7 separate regions of the Homo sapiens genome follow, and all the other regions are linked to region 5. Evidence: promoter capture Hi-C in 16 types of primary human blood cells and fetal thymus (Javierre and others, 2016). All regions are on one chromosome and are shown on one strand. Each heading gives the region's core, a stretch centred on a gene start or on the middle of the fragment in contact. The rest is flanking DNA. Distances are from core to core; before and after follow the strand shown.

Region 1 (2,700 bases), core at 138-2,637, 2.1 Mb after region 5:
CAACTAAAAAGTCCCAAATCTCATATCTAAATTAGATATGGGTGCAGCTCTGAGTATAATCTACTCTGGGGCAAAATTTTTTATCTAAGGACCTATGAAACTAGAAAGCAAGTTCTGTGCTCTACAACAGTAGTGGGACAGAAATAGGGTAACATTCATAGATGTTCCCATTCAAAAAGGGAGAAAAAGCCAAAAAGAAGACACCAGCCAATTCCTTTCAAAGTCCCATGGACAAACTGCATTAGGTTACTAAGCCTGGGAATAGCTGTGGCTCCTGCACCTGCCCTCTGTACCTGGGGCTCCACCCTCAGAGCCATCTTTTTGGATGAGGAGTACCACATGTCTGCTACTAAATAGTTTTATTAGCCCATTTCCTGCTAGTAGAATTTAGGGAACTCGGTTGCCTTCTTTCATTTCAACCACTCTGTCCGTTTTAGTCCAATTTGACAGTGTTTCTATTGGTAAACAAAACATTGTGAGTCATAGGGATTCACTCCATTGAAAGAGGCTTCTCAACAGATGTTTCCTGAATAATCCTATCTCTAGTTGGGGCTTCTGCTGAGATTGGTTGAGGGGGTTTGTGAGTCACATGCCTCTTCAAAGAGCTCTGTGTATCTGAATACTGTAATCTTTTGTGCCTCCTAAGCAGTAGCAAAAGACTACCCACACTTACAAATAGTTAAGATAATAAATTTCATATTGTGTATATTTTACCACAATTTAAAATTCAAAAACTTTTTAAAAAAAGGATGTGCAGCCATATTGTTGGCTTTCTCGCCAGAGCATGTTTTCCTTACAGTGGATCTCTTAGCTTTGGCATCTTTTGCAATCTGGATAGGCTGAGAATTACTCAAATCATCAAATCATAGTTTCATTTTCTAACAGTTCTCTCAGTTTATCCCTTTTCTCTCTCATTTTTCTAAAAGTAACAAGAAAAATCCAAGTCAGACCTTCATCACTGCTTGGAAACTTCAACTATACAAGTTCATTGCTTAAAAGTTCTGTTTTCTTACAATTATAGGACACAATTCATCTAAGCTTTCTACCACTGTATAACAAGAACCCTCTTTCCTTTAGTTTCCAAAAATATGTTTCTCAATTTCTTGTGAGCCCTCACCAGCAGCACTTTTAACATCTATATTTCTACAGTTTATGGTGTGTTAAGATTTTCTCTAGTATGATACAGGTTTTCTCTACCATGCTGTTCACTTACTTCCAAGCCCTCATAACACCCGTATTTTTACTAACAGCCTATTCGAGCATATTTAGGCCTCTTCTATCATATTCCTAAGAATTCTTCCAGTCTCTCTACAGATTATCCAAATCCAAATTACTTCCATAATTTTAGTGTTTGTTACAGCAAAGTTGTCATAATTTGGGGCCAGAAAAATCTTTATCTTGATGACTGAACTCACCTATTCTCCAATCTTGCTTTTTCTTTGGGGTGCCTTCCTTGTGGACTCTGGTCAAGATTAAACAAGAATAATAGTCCTACTCCTGGTGATTCCCAAGTTCAACCTTACAAATGAAGGGGAAAAGGGGCAGAAAGAGTGATGGTTTCAGGTACCCTAATCTGTATTTGTTTCCTATTGCTGCTTTAGCAAATTGCCACATAGTGGCTTAAAGCAACATAAATTTATTCTTCTTTGGAGTCCAATGTATACTGGGCAAAAGTCGAGGTATCAGCAGGATTCATTCCATCTGGATTATTCAGGGAAGAATGTTTCCTTACCCTTCCAAGCTTCTGAAGTCTGCCTGCGTCCCCTGTCTTATGGCTCCTTCCTGCATCTTCAGAGCCAGCAGCATAATATCTTCAAGTATCTCTCTGCTTTTGCCATCACATTATTTTCTCTGTGTCTCTGATTTACCTGACTTCCTCCTGTAAGGACTCTTAAGATGACATTGGACTCATCCAGATCAGCCAGTATAATCTGCTCATCTCAAGATCCTTAATTTAATCACATCTGCAAAGGCCTTCTTACTATGTAAAGTAACGTATTCATAGGCTCCAGGGTTTAGGACATGGACATCTTTGCTGGCCTATTTTTCAGCCTTCCACAACGGACAATAAACACACAGAACATATTAGATAAGCATTCAAAACCATCAATGAGAGCACACTATGAAACACTATTCTAAGGCCTTTAAATGCATAATCTCTCTTCATTCTCTGGCAATCAAGAATTTTGGCCAAGAAAAGAAACACAGTTTTCAATAAGGAAGCTCAGAAATTATTGATAACTCATAATGATCAAGAGAACAAAGTGAAAATGCCTTAGCATTGTGCTCAATGGTTTTAAGATATGACCCTAACTTTCCTGTCCAATCTCCATCTGCAACCTGTTTACCAATCAAACTAAATTTTCAACTGTTTTCAGAAGCTCCATGGTTTTTCCTTTTCTGCCTTTGCTCAGGCAATTCGTTCCATCTGAAATCTCTTTTCCGCCAACTGTGTATATCAGCATACTACTATTTCTTCTAGAAATTTATGTAAGTGGAGTAATAAAGTTTGTGTTCTTTTACATCTAGCTTCTTTCATTCAGCATATTTTTAAAAGATTTGTCATTTTTTTGTATTGCTAAATAATACTCTATTATATGATGATGTTACAAGTTATTAATATATTGTTGTTGGACATTTGCATTGTTTACTGTTTTGAGTTACGAATTAAGCTTCTACAAACATGGGCACAAATCTTTG
Region 2 (2,700 bases), core at 69-2,568, 2.2 Mb before region 5:
AGGCTGAGGCAGGATAATTGCTTAAACCCAGGAGGCAGAGGTTTCAGTGAGCCGGGATCCAGCCTGGGCAACAGAGCAAGACTCCATCTCCAAAAAAAAAAAAAAAAATTCCAAGAAGTCACAGGTGAGGAAGCCATAAGACAACATCCTTTTTCTCTGTGAGAGAAAAAAAAAAGTGACTTTTAAAGTGCACTGAGTCTGCTGAGTACTTGTGAATAATTTCAGAACTGAGACCCTATAGCACTCTTGGAGCTGCTGAGCCAGCTGCCATCCCCGCACCCCACCTCACCAACTCCCTGGCTTCCCCCACTTGTGCCAGCACTGCCAGGTGGCACTCAGAGAGCCTCCAGGGGTGTGTCTCCGGACCTGCCATTACCTACAGGAAGGGGCTTACATAGACCAGGGAAAGCCAACCCTGCCTTTTCAAAGGAACTTCATGCAGCCTGGGGACTTTTTTGACTTCTGTGAATTGTATCATCAGCTTTCCTGGTTCTCAGGGGATAACTATCTATCTTCTACAGAAAAATCTTTCTTTTCTATAGAGAGAACAATGCTTTCTCTCTCTCTCTCTCTCTCTCTCTCTCTCTCTCTCTATATATATATATATATATACGTATATATATATATGTATATATATATATACGTATATATATATATATATATATATACGTATATATATATGTATATATATATATATACGTATATATATATATATGTATATATGTATATATATCTTTATATAGAGAGAGGTAGATACTTATTATATATATAATCCCTCTTTACATGTTCCTCAGTTGGGCCCTGAGCACTACAGCTTGTCTCCTTTATCTGGAAGCTGATTGCATGCCTCCCCTCTCTCCCTGGCACAGCAGCTGGGAGCAACTTGCACATGACCAGGCTTTATCATTTTACATTGGAAATAATATGTTTCCATCCAGGATTTCAGTGAAGCTTCATGTTCAATCTTTTGGGAAGTCAGGACAGGGGGAAATGTTGTTAGTTTTTTCTTAACCAGAAGAACATAGAAGCCAGAAGAGACAGTACTAAGCTATTGTCCCCTAAACCAGTTTCTGGTGGAGAAAAGTGAGGCTCAGGGAGGTAAAAGTGTCTGCCTCAGTTGGTTCATCAGCGCCAGTGGCAGTGCTCTAAGGAGACGCCAGGCCTCCGGTAACCACTCAGTGTCAGAAGTTCAGGCAGCAACAGGTGCATGAGGAAGGAGTGGGGACATTCCAGAAATGCAGCTGTCAGGAATTTTTTAAATTGTTTTCCTTTCCTCTTGGGCCAATCATTGGGTATTTACATTCACTGTGGTCACCTGAGCCAGGTACCGCAATTGCATGTCCTGGAGTAGAAACTGATGTGATACCCAAGACTAACACTTAGTTCCTTCTTTGCCTTTAAGTACTAAGTGGATCTGTGATTTTAGGCAAGTGATTGTCCCTTTCTGGGCCTGTGGTTTTTTTGTTTGTTTTACTTTTTTGTTTTTTAATTATCATGACCAAAAGTCTTTTATTATTAACAACAATTGCACACTTTTTGTTGGGAAAAAAGGTATACAAATTATAAAACAGTTAACAATGTTTCCTTAAGGAGAGAAGTGTTAATGCTCTTCTCTAATTATGCTTTTAATGGTATTTTGTTCTATTTTTTTATTTTCAATAGCTTCTTTATTTCCCTTGGGATATTGAAGCTTTACTTAATCTTATTCTTTCTAAGTAGGGTAGAGAATTCCTGTTTCAAGTCTCCACAAAACAAAATCCCTTTTCTTGACATAGTAGAAAGGACAGGTGCTTGGATGTTTGGTTGGCAGGGGAAAGGAAAGAGTCCAGGTGCTACTGATAGAAATATTCAACCAAATCCTCCAGTTTTCGACTCCACCACTCACTGTGGTGCCTTCCTCAAGACCTTGGAGCTCCAAGTCTCTGAAGAATATTTCAGGCAATGAGAGGAGTCCCTGACTAAGGTAAAACCCTCCTCTCTGTCTCTTTCTGTGTGCGTGTATATGTATGTATATGTATATGTATATGTATATGTATATACATATACATATTCTATTGCTGCTTCCTCCTTAAACTCCACTAGAATAACAATGAAAGGTATTTAACATATTAATCCACCAATGTGAATAGTTGAGAGATGCCAACAATTTGAAAGATGGAAAAGAGGTCTGCAAATGCTCATTGTCGTAGCACAGCTGAGAAAGCTCACTGAGGCGCTGAGAGTGAGATGCGAAGGGACGGCCAGTGCAACACGGGCCTGTGTGTTTTTATGGACAGTATGAAGGTATTGAAACTGATCAGTAGTCTTCAAACATTTTCTTTCTTTCTTTTTTTTTTTTTCTTTTAGCAGGGAGATCTATTTCTCAAGTGAAAGGTAACTGAAACTGTCATGCATGAAACAAGCCCAAGCAAGCAGCTGCAGTTGCATGGTCAGCTGAGCCAAGGGCAGAGAGATGAGCCAGATGGGCTTCCCGCCCCTGGAGGGAGCCCCCATCCCCAGAGGGCAGACTCTGACACTCCTTCCCAGGTTCTTGGGGCATCACCAAAAAGAGTGGAAATCCCTACATGTTTTATCTCCAAGGGTCTCTAACCTTCTGTAACACTGCTCTGTGAATGCAATGAGACCATGTAAGAAAAGCACTGAGTAAAACCAAGAGCCTCATGTTTTGTTGCTATGCTGATTTTAATCTTTGAAGGTAAA
Region 3 (2,700 bases), core at 87-2,586, 2.6 Mb after region 5:
CATTACCTCCAGAATAAAGTCCTACCTTCTCAGTGCGGGCCATCCCAGAACCTCTACAACTGGACACAGGCCATCTCTTTAGTCATGCTTCACACCTGCCTCCCCTGAATCTCTAGGTCACAATTTTCTTTTTATACTACTTTTCATTTCTCCCAAACACGTCAATGGGTTCACACTGCTCCTTGGTCTGAGAATCCCCTACCAATTTTCCAGGAGTGAACATGCCCAGACGGTACCCTCTCTGTGAAGACTTCCCTAAGTTTCTCAGGCAGAGTCTGTCCTTTCCCCTACTCGGCTTCCACAGTACCTGCACCTGCCTATGATTTTCTGCAGTATACTACATTCATTTTCTTGTCTGGTTTTCTCATTCACCTTTGCATCACTGGGACCCAGCACATAACAGGTACTCAACAAATCTTTGCTAAAACAATATACAGGTCAGAGGAGAAGAAGAAAAATCATAGAGAACAAAAACAGAATCAGACAGTGAGAAGCTAAAAATGAAATGGAAAGGGAAGTGACTAAGAAAAGAAAGAATTAGACATAAAACGGAGTGGCCAAATTAGTCTCTTTAGGAGTCAGGCAGCAAAGAACAGAACCGACAAAGAATTGAGGAAGTGATGTGAACAGCAAACTGAGCTAAACTTTCATGTGGGTGATTTGTCCCTTCTGATATGATAATTTCTGGTATTTTCTCATTTTTCTTTACCGCTGAATTTCTCTATTGAAAGATGATCTATATGAAAACAAAACTGGAATTAATCAAAATGTTCAATAGTAATGGAATTGCTTAATAAATAACAACGTACCAATATAAAACAAAAATCAGACATGACAAAAGAAGAGCATTCCAGATACTTGAGAAAAGAACTTGTGATTGTGACAGAATTGTTCTGAGACTTGGGGAGTTAGCAGGGAAGGAGTGAAAAGCTTCACTCAAGGTAGCAGCTGCTGCTGATTCAGGAGCCTCTACTCTGTATGTGTAGCTAAGTGACTGTAAAGGTAACCCAACGGGTACCTGAACCTCAAACCCCCTGAGGGAACAGGGTACCATGATGCAGTCACAGCCAGTGAGTGCCCTGGGTTTGGGAATAAGGAGATCCTCATTGTCCACACTAAGTGCAAGGAAAGAAATTACGCAGCCCACAAGAATGCCATCTGGGTTAAAGAGATACAGAAACACATTACTGCACAATCATTTTCAATTTTAAAAAGCAAATTAAATAAAAAGGTTTATTTGGGGCCGGGCATAGTGGCTCACGCCCGTAATCCCATCAATTTTGGGAGGCCAAGGTGGGAGGATCACCTGAGGTCAGGAGTTTGAGACCAGCCTGTCCAAAATGGCGAAACCCCGTCTCTACTAAAAATACAAAAAATTAGCCAGGTGTGGTGGCAGGTGCCTGTAATCCCAGCTACTTGGGAGGCTGAGGCAGGAGAATCACTTGAAACCCAGAGGCAGAGGCTGCAGTGAGCCGAGATCGTGTACTGTACTCCAGCCTGGGTGACAAGAGTGAAACTCCATCTCAAGAAAAAGAGGTTTATTTGGAAAATTATTCTCCACAATGGTGTCTTCTCTGGTGACTGGAGATGACAGCTTTGACCATAATGAGAGTTGTGTTATGATCCACAGAAGAGCATGGGATTAGCAACCAGAGGAAGGCTGTCCTGGTACCAGCTGTCTTAAACATTAGTCCTGTGACCCTGCTCCAGTCACAGATGTCAATTTCACCGAAAAGAAAATGGAAGCTTAGAGCAGTTTTTTAATACCTGTCAGCTGTTTGCCTTATCCACAGAATCATCAAAGGACTAAGACAGTATTTGTATGAAAGTATATAAAAACTGCAAAGCATGACGCAGTGTCTTCAACTACTTCATATTAACTTCACAAGTACTGTAGTATTAATCAGTTCTGGTTTGGTGGTTATCTAATGTTTATTTCTGCAATCCTAGCTCTATCATTAAAAGGTAATATGACAAATAAGTATATTTAACAACATATATCATCTAAGTAATTTTCTGTAAACATGTTATCATACAACATAAATACTGAGTGTTTTAATTACAAGTACAAAACAATACAATGTCTGGATTCTACCTCTAGATATCCAAGAATTTTAATTATAAACACTAGTTTAGATTCTACAATGGAGAATATAAAAAGTCAAATAAAAACATAACCTATTTTGAGTGTACAGCTCTCACAACTATGAAACAGGTTCTACTGTTATGCCCATTTTGCAGATGAAGAAACCAAGGCCCAGAGAGGCTAAGGAGATCTCCAAGGTCACACAGGAAGCAAGCAGAAAAGCCAGAATTCAAAGTCAAGCAGTCTATGGCTAGAGAGTGTGCTTTTCACCATTAGATAGCTTTGCCTATTATTGCCTCAAGTGCCTTTGTAAACAGGCCACTGTGTTACTTCTGGAAAATTAGGAGCCCTCTGTCCCTCCCCTTTACCTGTGCTCCCACTGCAGCTTGGGCTGACTTCTGTGAAGCTACACTCTTTACTAGTTGCTCCCTTACAAGACCATGAACTTTCTAAGAGCAGGCCCCATGTATCCCTATATTCTCGAAGTCCAGCCCTGCCGGTGAGTTCTGAATGTAAGGGTAAACTTTGCGTACAATTAGCGCGATGCTAATAGGCTGGGGAATGGTTTTAAATGATACACTAAAGAAATACTAACCACAACAACAAAGTTTCAT
Region 4 (2,700 bases), core at 88-2,587, 2.1 Mb after region 5:
TAAAGGCCCCACCCCTTAATATGGTTACTGTGACAATTGAATCTCATCATAAGTTTGGAGGGAACATTCAAACCATAGGAACCTAGGATGTGGTATTGCTCTGGAATGGTGGTCACCTTCAGGGGTGTTTACTTCATCTTTCCTACTATAAAGGCTCTTACTCCACAGGTCAAAAAACAAATGTGAGAGGGGGCTAGGGACATGATCACAGCATGGGTGCTGATAAACTTAGTTCTGGAGTCCATTTGTCATCTAGCCTCAGTAAGTCCTTATTTAACTGAGGGGGCCCATGATTGTGTTTTGGGTCTTGTAGCAGTGACAGCTCAGACTCTGTGATCAAGCCATCAGAAGATCTGAGTATTCCATTCCTCCAAATGCACAGGAACTCCAACAAATGGGTATGGGTCCCTTTGGGGAAGGGTTGGGAGAATCACTATGTTATATGCTTGCTGTGGCTTACAGGACTTCCTCTCCCTTAAGTGATTAAATCTGGGCCTGAGGTTCCAGACACCAGTCTGGGAACTGGGTATCAGACTGTGATCGTCCATTGTGGTAGCTGACATCATCAACATTTGGCTCTCTTGCTCCTGATCACTTTTGATTGTAAAGGTCAAGCAATATCCTTATCAACTGCACATCTAAGAGCTCTTAGGAACCATGGGATATATTAACCACAGTCTCAGATTCGTGCCTGTCAGGCCCCTGTTTGCCATGCTGCCTTTATGCCATTATAGTAGTCATGGCTGCCTTGCTGCCACCAAGCCTCCACTATTCTGGAATCCTATTTTGCTTCTTGGTACTAGGAATCCCAGTCCCATAATGATATCACTACCATCAATCCTGGCCTTCAGAATATAAACCACTTCGGAGTTTTTCCGTGAAGCCAGTACCCCCATCACCATCACATTCTTTACTGTTTTAATGAAGACTGTCTTCTTGGACTCTCTTGGAAACATTGTCAGCGAGCTGTGTTATTCTATGTCATTCTTTGGAGTAAGCTTATCTCCCTGAGCCAAAGCACAGTAGTAAATAAATCTTATCTAGTTTTTAAAAACATTTATTTATTTATTTATTAGAGACAAGTTCCTACCTTCTCCCAGGCTGGAGCACAGTGGTCCCATCATGGCTCACTGCAGCCTCAAATTCTTAGGCTCATGTGATCTTCCTTCCTCAGTCTCCTGAGTAGCTAGGACTACAGGCACAAGTCACCATGCCCAGCTAATATTTTAAATTCTTATTTTTTGTAGAGATGTGGTCTTGCTATGTTGCCAAGGCTGGTCTCGAATTCCTGGCCTCAAGCAATCCTTCTTCCTTGGCCTCCTAAAGTGTTGGGATTACAGGCATGAGCCACTGTGTCCAGCCAACCTTATCTCATTTATTTCAGGCCTTCTTTTCTCCAGATTTCAATGAGCCATTCCTACAGTTGTATTAGGACCAGCTCTAAGTGCCTTGCCAGGTCATTAAACTTTGACTCATGAGAGAGTACCCTTTTATCAACTCATTCTTTCTTATCCAGCCTTGTATATTACGTACCACCATTATCAGTCCAACACCATTCTCATGCGTGCTTTCCCAATTCCTGACATATATTTAGGCAGATCCTACAATTCTTTTGGTTAACAATCCCTTTTCTCCAAAATAAGGGACAGTATTTCCCAGGAGCATGGTGCCGATACTGAAGCTTAGTTATTTGTCTAGAAGCAGTGAAGGGAGACAGGTTCTGAAGAGGCAAGCACCCTCTTGCAATGCAAGGCTGTGCACAGTTTCCAGGCAAAGGGAGCTGCTATCCTTCAGTAAGAGGGGGAGAAAGCGACTCCTGCCAACTCTCTGGGGGGTCATGGGAATCTAGGGGTTCAAGGTGTGCCATTTCATAGGCAAAGATGTCCCCATCCCATCTCAGGGTCTTACTCTCTCCCCACAAAGGCCTTGACTTTAATGAAGGATATCTGCCAGGGCTGGGAATAGAGACCAAAGTTTCTTGATTATTCTGCTGTGATCATAATGAACATGCTGTGCTTGTAGGATTTTCGCACAGTCTGCCCTCTGGCTGCAGGGGGTGAGGGGCTCCTTCAATGTTGAGGGCCATTGAGGTCTTCTGACTTCACACTACACCCGAGTTGATAGTTGGTAGTTGATCTGATCCTGTTGTTTTCTTCCCTTAGCACATGATGGTAGTGGAAAGCAACAGCTAATTCCACATTCCTTATGATTACCATTTTATGACATCTCTCAGTTGCTATAATAGCGTGTAAGTCAGTGCATCTCTTTCTCTTTCTTCCATCATAGCTCACTTCATGCAAGAGTCGCAGTAATTGAAATGCCACAGCACACCAGAGGAAGGGAGGATGAGACGAGGGAGGGAAGCAGCCCATAAAGGACACATTACCAAGCAAGTTGTCACTGAGGGCAACTGGAGCTTAATCCTGCGGGGACCTTTGGCTGACAGTGTAGCAAATTTCTCAGAGTTAATTAATCAAAGACATGGGGAAGCTGAGGTGTCTATCCTTCATTCCTGCCAGTCATTGGTTGAGGGCACTCCCAGGAAGGATATTAATTCCTGACACTTCCAGGCTGCCCCGTGTGGGGGCAGAACAGGTATTGGAAGTCAGAGAAGGCTCTCAGGCAGTCACAGGTGCTTCCCATTGGAAGTTGAGAGGATGGGTCCAGAAACGGTCATTGCCAAGATGAATAAGCACGAGA
Region 5 (2,700 bases), core at 90-2,589:
CCAGATTTAACAAGCAGACAAAAACAACCCCTACAAACCAGTTAATTTTCCAACATGCTTTCTGCTTCCAGAATTCTAGACTGTACTGTGGTTTTCCATCCATCTCACTGACTGCTCTTTCCTGGTGTCTTTGGCTAATTCTTTGCCAATCCAGCTAAGTTTACTTGTTCCTGCTAATGTCCCTTTCACTCTGACATTTGGTACAAAATCCCTTCCCCTTTCCAGCCTCTCTTTCTGGACAGGGAACCTTGTTGCTGTCCTTTCCCTTCTCTACATTACTCTCCTGAATCTGCTCTCTTTCCTGTCCTTTCTCCACTTCAGTATCTGCTGTCACCTCTCCTGCATCTTTTCTCCACTGAATGACTCGGTTCTCTCTACCCCACCTTCCTGTCCCTTCTTACCTTAGAATGGTGACATGGCCTAAGTTACCTAAATCAGGCAATCACTGCTAGAAACAATACTAAAGTCCTGTCTCAGGTTTGCCTCCTTATCTTTGCGCTCCCACCCCCACGATGTCCAGCAAAGCATATTACACATAACTTGATTCAATTACCATTTAGTCATTTCTCCAAAGGATAAAGGCCCTTACCGCCCAGAAACCTTCAAGAAAGAAGGCAAACATAACTTCGATACAAAGTAAAATCATCAGATATGAGAATGAATACAAAACTGGCTACTGTTAGCGCCACTGTTTCCAAACCAGTTCCTGTAAGAACAATGCCTTAGTCTTGCTCATCAGACCGGGGTAATCACTGTGCCGAAACCATGACTGGCACGTAGTAGGTACTTAAACACTAGTCGGTAAAACGAACCAAAGGACACGCTAAGGAATGAACACTCTGTGCTTTGCACAGTCCGTGGCACACAGCTGCAGCTCCAAGAGGAAGCCACTGCAAAAGAAGCGCGCCCTTGGGTCCTCCCCTTCCCTCGCAGACCCCCAAACCCGGCGCGCTCCTAACCTTGGTGTCCACGTCGGCCAGGCAGTCTCTGCGGAACTGGTCGAAGAGCCCCTGGCTCTTGAGGTGGTTCACGATCATGGCCACGAGCTGCGGGTCCCCGGCGCCCGCACCCGCGCCGCCCGCCCCGCCCGCGCCGGGGCCAGCCCCGGGGCCCGGCGGCGGCGGCGGTGGCTGCGGCTGCGGCTGCGGCGGGGGAGGCGGCGGCGCCGGAGGAGGCGGCTGCGGCTGTGGGTTGGTGGCCATGGTGGCCTGTGCCGGGGAGGGCAAGGGCCCTGACCGGCGGACGATCCTGGGAGGCGGCGGCTGCACTGGTCCCGCCGCCTGAGGGAAGCCAACGGGATGTTGTTACGGAACCAGCGGATCCAGAGCAACCCCGGAAGTGAAAGGGAACTGGGGGAAAGGAGGAAAAGACGGTGACAACATTGACGAAAGTCCGGCGACGGAGGCCGCGAAGAGCCAGTTTCGACCGTCGCCGGGCGCAAGCGCCCTCGCGAGGCCGAGCTGCGCCGGAAGTGGCGGCGACTGTGGCGACGGAGACGACAAGACTGTGCTGGTCGCGGGTTGTGGGGTTTAGGTCACCGGCAGGGGTCTGGAGTCCCTGGAGGTTAGGGCTTCGACCCGCGCGACACCTGGGGCCCTAGGTCTGAGCGGGGGCAGTGCGTTTCTGGCCCCGCTTCATCCGCGACGGCATTTTAGGCCTGCCTCTCTTGCTCCAGTTTCCCGGAGCAGTGCATAGAGATCCATAGACATTTGTAATGCGAACCCTACGTGGATCTGCTCATTCTAACTTCGCCCAACCCTCTTCGTTCTTAGCCTGTGATCCTGCACTATTCTTGTCCCAGCAGGTAGCTCCAAGTTCCTTCTGTCTCTCTTCTGCCTGCACATACCATTTCCCCGTGGGGGTCCCTTGTTTCTGGCAGTGTGCCTGTGGATTAGATCCGATCCCTCCAGCCCGTTCTTCCTATCTGTGAAGACAAATCGACAGGCTTTTATTTTTAGGAGATTTGCTATTGATTACTATGATTATAGCAGGTAAAACATCTATAGCACATATTATGTACCAAGCGTGGCGTTAAGTGCTTTTACATGTATTAACGCATTTAATCTTTGGACAAACACTAAGAGCTAGGTCTGATTACTGTCCCCAGTTTGCAAATCAGGGAACCAAGGCTCAGATAAATTAAGTATGTTGAGTAAGATTACACAGCTAGCAAATCACCTGCTTTTGGACTGCATCATCTTTGAAATTATTATTAGTACGTGGTCAAAGCAACATAAATATTAGAAAATTTCATAATTACTAAATAGTGTGTGTAACTTTATTGAAAAATGCATATTGTTGCTTTTTAAAGTTCCTACATCTGTGGCTGAATATATCTTATTAGTAGGAAAAGAAGGGTTGAGCATCAATTCTATTCCTATTTGTAATTTTTATAGCTGTGTGCCCTGAGAAACCTTGTTCATATAAACAAGTACTGTGCCTAGGAATGGAAGAGTTTTGTTGTAGCAATATCATTCAATTCTTGACCTCAAAAAATTAGATTTGATTATCTATGAGCTGACTTCAATTAGGCCCTCCTTCTATTTTATGGAAAGCAAAGAGCTGAAAACCACCTGGCTTGCCAAAGGATTTGTTTACTTAATCCTTATTTTTTCACTCTTTCAGATTCTGGGAAATATACCAGATAGGTTTTACCAAGATACCAAATGACTATGAATTAGACCTGATTTTTTCAATGAG
Region 6 (2,700 bases), core at 81-2,580, 2.6 Mb after region 5:
CTAATATTCCACCTCACAGTCTTTTAACCTCCCATTCCCCCATGGCCATTCTTTTCAGTATACACCCATGGTTCATGCATCTACAACTGCACACCACACTGCGTTGTAACTGTTTTTTAATGCATTACTCCCCCTGTCAGCTCTCGATCCCATATTTGTAGGAACTGTGTCCCCATATCTGTATTTTGGTTGCATCCAGTTGAAAGACAGGGCATGGTAGAATAGAAATAACATGCACCTTATAAACTGATGCAGGTTAAATCCAAACTGCTCCTTACTTGCTGTGGGGACTGGGGCAAGTTACTTCTTTGAGCTTCTTTAAAACAACAATAGTAATACCTGCTATGCAGGATTGTTGTGAAGATTAAATAAGCTGCATTCATTAGTTCAACAAATATATGGAGACGTCCTATTACATGTCAGTAATTGCAAGTGTAACTGTACTTGCTATTAAGAATATAAAGGTGAATAAGTCATGACTTTATCCTAAGAACTTTATAATGTGGTAGTAGAGAAAGACTAGGAAATAGACAGTTGCAACATAATTCTTAAAGGATGAGTAAGGATTCACTAGCACAGGAGTTATCAGGTTTAGGTTGAAAGCAGCAGGATCTGAGGTAGAAGGAGAACTGTGTGCAATGCCTTTAAGCCAGGGAGAGGATGGGAAGTCTAAGGCACAGAGGGAGGTGTAATGTAGCTGTGATGTGATGGTGGGGTTAGGCTGCAAATACAAATATTACAAGGGGCCTTGCAAGCTAGGCACAGGGCAGAGGGAATGTGTGAAGAGTAGATGATTAGATTTGCACTTCAGGAAGATCTCTTTCCTTGCTGGCATGTGGAATAGTTTGGGGGAGTCAAGAGAATCACTATGACCAGTGAAGAGACTGTAGCCCAGAAGTGTTAATGGCCTTAACAGCAGGAGTTACAGTGGAAATGGGGTGGAGAGAATGCATTGAGAGATAATTAGGTGCCAGAAAAGGCAGCAAGTGATATGGTGTACAGGTGGGGGAAAAGTGCGTAAGGAAGAGAGAGGAGATTTCGGGGAAAATGTACAGAATTTTGACTTGAGGATGACGGTGCTATTCTCAGAGATAGGAAATGCAAGAGAAGCAGTTTAGGGTATAGGTAGGGAATGGAAAGTGAGTCCAGTGTGGAAATTGTGGAATTTGAAGTACCCAGAGGGAGCGCAGGACATTTTGACATCATTTTGAGCTCTTGTATGTTTTGACCCTGCTGTTTTTTTTGTTCTTGAATATAAACATTGCCGTCAAGATGATATCAACACTGATGAATTTTGTGGTAAAGATTTATTCCAGGGTTAACTTCGTTAAGCTAGTTTAATTTATTGACCTATTTCCTATATTGCAAATTTAATCTTTTCCAATTTGTTCCCTCCTGTATTGTTTTACTAGCACTGTTTCCATCAGGACAAAATCTTTCTTGTGTACATTTTACAATGAATACTTGATTTATCAACCTCTTTATCATCATCTTTTTCAAATTTTTACAGATACAACTTTTCCATGATAAATGTCGTTTTAGCTCTACTATTTTTACCATGTCAAATTTTGGACAACTACTCTTTTTGATTTTTCATTAATTTGTGAGCAATAATAACTTTTTACCATTTTCTGTTTTTGCTATTTTCAGTTGTATTTTACCTTTTTTTTTGTAACCAGCGAAATAGTTTCATGAGACAATTTTTTCAACTTTAAAAATTACCAATGATCTGTGATTCTCAAGTCAGCTTTTCATCTATAACAAATTTTGCTGTGTATCATTTTGGCCCTTGTCGGTTTCATTTTGGTCCTTAAAACCAAAACTGCCTCAGAATCTAAATGGCATTCTTCTGCCTATGGAAGAGCCAAGGATAGAAGTCCAGAACATAGGTACATGTATATAGGTATGGCGATTTGAAGAGAAGTCTAGGATGAAATGTAGATTTGTAAGCATTTGCATCTGGGTATGGGGGCAAGAGAGTGGATGACATCTCACCAGAGGGTGTATAGCGTAAGAGAAGAGCACCCCAAAAAACTAGGAGAAAGAATCCAGGAAGGAGCGGTAGAAGGTAGGGAGAAACTCACAAGACGGCATTCTTGTGGAAGTCAAGTCAAGAAAGAGGAAGTGGTCAACAATGTTGGATGCTGCAAAGAGGATGCATACTGAAATGTGTGGATTTTGCAACAATAACATCACCCTGTCGTCACTGAAGGCAACCTCATGAACGGAGAAAGATATGCAGCTGGGTATACAGAAGAGGAGCAAGAAGGAAGCGAAGATGTGGAGACAATTACAAGGACAACACTGGGCTGCAAGAAGAAAAATTTGCTTATTGATTGGCTGGTTTGTTTCCTTTTAGTACGGAGAGACTTAAGCATGGTTAGGTGCCGATGGGTTAGAGAGGAGAGGATGAATGTACAGGAGAGTTGGAACAGGATCCCCAAGAAGAAAATTAAGATCCCAGTCCTTTCCAGGGGTAGAATTTAGCATTGCTGCCTAAATCTCCATATCTAATGATTCCTCTGCAGCCGTGCCCAAGACAGAACCATCCTCAATCTGGCCCATCCATTTGGGCTTTTACTTTGGGTTCCCCATTAAACCCCTAATTCCTTCCTGGGCCCAGAACTTTCTCCAGAGCTGCTATCACTTGCTTTCATATCTCAGTCAAGGGGATCTTACTGCCCTTAACCCCACAGTACT
Region 7 (2,700 bases), core at 133-2,632, 2.2 Mb after region 5:
ATTGTCTGCCATGGTTCTGTGGTTTGACTGGGATCAGCTGAGTGGCCTGTTTCACTTGGTGTCAGCTGGGGGTGTAGGCATCTGCAACATTGTCTTGGCAGGAACATCCAAGATGTCCCACTTAACACGATGGCTCCTGGGCTCAGCTGGGCTGGTCAGGCCTCCCTTCCTCTCTGTGTTGCCACACGGCCTCTCTCTATCCATGTGGCCTCTCCATATGGTCTCTCCCTGGTGGAGGTGAATTTCTTCAAGGTTTCTAAACTCTCAAAAGTGGAGCCTGGCAAGCCCACTCAAAGCTTCAGATCCACAACTGGCACAGCTTCCCTTCCACAGATTCTATAGGTTAAAACAATCACCGGACCAGCCCAGATTCAAAAGAAGGAGAAACAAACTCCACCCCTCCATGGAGGAAGTAGCAAAAATAATGTAGACAGTTTTTACCCTTTACATCTGGATTTGTTAGCTTTTCTGTTTTCATTTTCTTCTGGTCTTTCTTTTGTCCTTCTCTTACACTTATTTTATTACCTTTTATCAATTAGCTTTTAAGATGATAAAAATCTAATACATGCCTCCTGGAATGTCTTCTTGAGCCTAGGGACTTTTGTTTAATGATATATCTTGAGGACCTAGAATAGTGCCTGAAATACAATAGTCATTAAATATTTAGCTGAATTAAATGAATGGTATATAAGCCAGGGTATTAAAAATAACATAAACAAAGTTGTAATAAATATACTTCCCCAGTGAACGACCTAATACCATTACTCCCCAAACCCTCAATTTCTGTCTTGAGCATAGAAACTGTTAATTTTTCCTTTGTGTAGTAGGTCCTTAGTATTTCTTTAGAGGTTGTAGCACTTTATCTTCCTCACTGTTCCTTTTCCTTGGTTGTCCTTTTCCAAACATCTCTCAACAATTTCTCCCAAGTCCATCTTGCCTGCACTAACAGTCTCCTTTAGAACTCCCCTCTCCTGCCTGTCACACAGTCTTAGTAATAGTGCCACAGTATAGTAGTAAGGGTCTCCAGAGAAACTCACTTTCTGCAAGTTTTTTAGTGTGGGTAGGTGAGTATTGAAGCTTGTTCTTGGCGTTACCAGGTTGGTTCTTTGAGTTGAACCAGGGGCATTACATGCGGAATATTCCTGAACAGATCACCTCTGGTTCTGCTGTCTCAAGGGCCACACACAAGAGCTGCCTTCTGACCAAGATGTCTCTGGGCACATGAGACCTGAAATACACATGGCCAAGACTCAACAAAGCGTTTGCTGACTGTCAGAGCTGACAGCATCTCGGTACTGTGGGAGGGAGCCCAGTGTCTGGTGATAGTCAGGACGGACCCAGGTGATGTCAGGGGTGGGGTGGGGCCTGCAGGAGGGAATGGAGAGCCAGCACCTAGGGGAAGCTGGGAATTTAGGAAGATATCCAGAGAGTGTAACTTCAGTTCCACTAATCTCACCTGGGTGAAAACCAGCCCTCTCCATGGATGATGGTGATTGCAGGTACTGACGATAGCTGCAGACTGCTGGTGGTCTAGGCAAGCATGCAGGGATGGGAGCAGGCATTTCTGAGAGCTCCCCTTATCCCTGCCCCAAGACAAGGTGGGGGCCCTGTGGGGAAGGACTATTTTATTCACTTCTGCATCTCCAGTTGTCTAACACATTGCTTATCACCTAACAGTCTCTTAATAGAAGCTTGCTATATTGAGCTGCCTTGAGTCCACATCATGCTGGTTGAACATAAGTAGAAATTGTGGGAGACTTAATCAGAGAAAATCTTTCATCTGTCTTACCTTACGTTCTAATGATCACTTCTGTGCCCACAAGGACCATCTTTTCTGATTCATGTTCATGTCGATTTCTTTTTTATTTAACTTCCTCTTCAAAATTTCTGGCAGGATTTCTTGGGAGCCAATTCTCCATTTTTACTTCCCCATGCCTCCCATTTTAATGACTGTAGGATTTTCTCAGGGTCTACTCAGCAAAACTTGTTAGTACAACATGAGCAAAACAGCAAATTTATGCAAACACTTAGCAAAGACTTAGCTGTCTGCCTAATGCTAGGGTGAGACATGGGAGATTCACAAATGAAGAAACACAAGCATTGATCTCCAGGATCCTGCAGTGGGAGGTATGCGGAGGACCAACCTGGGAACAGAGCAACGCAACACCATGTGATCTGTAATGAAAAAGAGGCCTGTACACAGCCAAGAGGTCACTGAGGAAGGAGCCATTGCTTCTGTGCAGTTAGTGCTGCGCTAGATTCTGCAGGGATGTAAGAAATGTACCCCTATCAAACAAGAAAGACTATGTGAATTGCTGAATATGTGAGTGGAGTACCAGCACAATGCCATGGAGATGCAGACGTGCCCCATGTGGTGGGGCAGAGTCAGGAAGCACTTTAAGAAAGAAATAGCATTTCAGGTCTTCCTTTAAAGGTAGAATTTCAACAAGAGGGTGCTCTGGAGAGTGTGTGTTACCCTGCTGAGAAAATCCTGGCGGTCAGGTAAGATGCTACTGCCAGGGAAGATTGGCCAATTGATTGACTAAACCCTTAAAGGTTTGGGGATCTTGGGGAGGATTCTGCTGGTGAGAGGGTCTGGACTTCCTCTTGGTCTGTCCACAGCTGGACCTTCTCAGCACACAAGAGACTATGAGGGTGACCATTTTGCACAGGACAGAATTCCAGCATGTTTTTCCCCTG

What was found. The method cuts DNA at HindIII sites, captures the fragments that hold promoters and counts their contacts. A CHiCAGO score of 5 or more calls a contact.
Region 1: a fragment that was not itself captured here is called in contact with the fragment with the promoter of BOD1L1 in region 5 in 2 of 17 cell types (total CD4 T cells and naive CD8 T cells); the score reaches 6.5 in total CD4 T cells.
Region 2: a fragment that was not itself captured here is called in contact with the fragment with the promoter of BOD1L1 in region 5 in 1 of 17 cell types (non-activated CD4 T cells); the score reaches 7.0 in non-activated CD4 T cells.
Region 3: a contact is called between a fragment that was not itself captured here and the fragment with the promoter of BOD1L1 in region 5, in 1 of 17 cell types (non-activated CD4 T cells). The highest score is 7.0, in non-activated CD4 T cells.
Region 4: a fragment that was not itself captured here is called in contact with the fragment with the promoter of BOD1L1 in region 5 in 2 of 17 cell types (total CD4 T cells and naive CD8 T cells); the score reaches 6.6 in total CD4 T cells.
Region 6: a fragment that was not itself captured here is called in contact with the fragment with the promoter of BOD1L1 in region 5 in 1 of 17 cell types (activated CD4 T cells); the score reaches 5.0 in activated CD4 T cells.
Region 7: a fragment that was not itself captured here is called in contact with the fragment with the promoter of BOD1L1 in region 5 in 2 of 17 cell types (non-activated CD4 T cells and fetal thymus); the score reaches 5.2 in non-activated CD4 T cells.

Annotation. Positions count from the first base shown.
Region 1 is chr4:15,691,119-15,693,818 of GRCh38, forward strand. No RefSeq gene overlaps it. Among named protein-coding and RNA genes, the nearest start is that of BST1, 11 kb to the right of the region's middle. The HindIII fragment of the contact is 703 bases long and covers 1,037-1,739 here.
Region 2 is chr4:11,467,869-11,470,568 of GRCh38, forward strand. No RefSeq gene overlaps it. Among named protein-coding and RNA genes, the nearest start is that of HS3ST1, 40 kb to the left of the region's middle. RefSeq lists an enhancer at 2,314-2,503. The HindIII fragment of the contact is 739 bases long and covers 950-1,688 here.
Region 3 is chr4:16,216,880-16,219,579 of GRCh38, forward strand. The region is part of intron 1 of TAPT1 (transmembrane anterior posterior transformation 1); the gene reads right to left. Among named protein-coding and RNA genes, the nearest start is that of TAPT1, 8.2 kb to the right of the region's middle. The HindIII fragment of the contact is 816 bases long and covers 929-1,744 here.
Region 4 is chr4:15,746,615-15,749,314 of GRCh38, forward strand. It overlaps a transcript of BST1 not described here. Among named protein-coding and RNA genes, the nearest start is that of CD38, 30 kb to the right of the region's middle. The HindIII fragment of the contact is 683 bases long and covers 997-1,679 here.
Region 5 is chr4:13,626,386-13,629,085 of GRCh38, forward strand. It overlaps BOD1L1 (biorientation of chromosomes in cell division 1 like 1), which reads right to left and starts at 1,340. Exons shown (of 26, transcript NM_148894.3): 1 at 960-1,340. The coding sequence starts at 1,202. MIR5091 (microRNA 5091) reads left to right here and starts at 1,480; the gene lies at 1,480-1,572. RefSeq lists enhancers at 769-1,499, 1,337-1,496, 1,500-2,230 and a silencer at 997-1,196. The HindIII fragment of the contact is 7,220 bases long and covers 1-2,700 here.
Region 6 is chr4:16,235,740-16,238,439 of GRCh38, forward strand. All of the region lies in intron 1 of TAPT1-AS1 (TAPT1 antisense RNA 1), which reads left to right. Among named protein-coding and RNA genes, the nearest start is that of TAPT1-AS1, 10 kb to the left of the region's middle. The HindIII fragment of the contact is 2,892 bases long and covers 1-2,700 here.
Region 7 is chr4:15,781,904-15,784,603 of GRCh38, forward strand. The region is part of intron 1 of CD38 (CD38 molecule); the gene reads left to right. Among named protein-coding and RNA genes, the nearest start is that of CD38, 4.9 kb to the left of the region's middle. The HindIII fragment of the contact is 614 bases long and covers 1,076-1,689 here.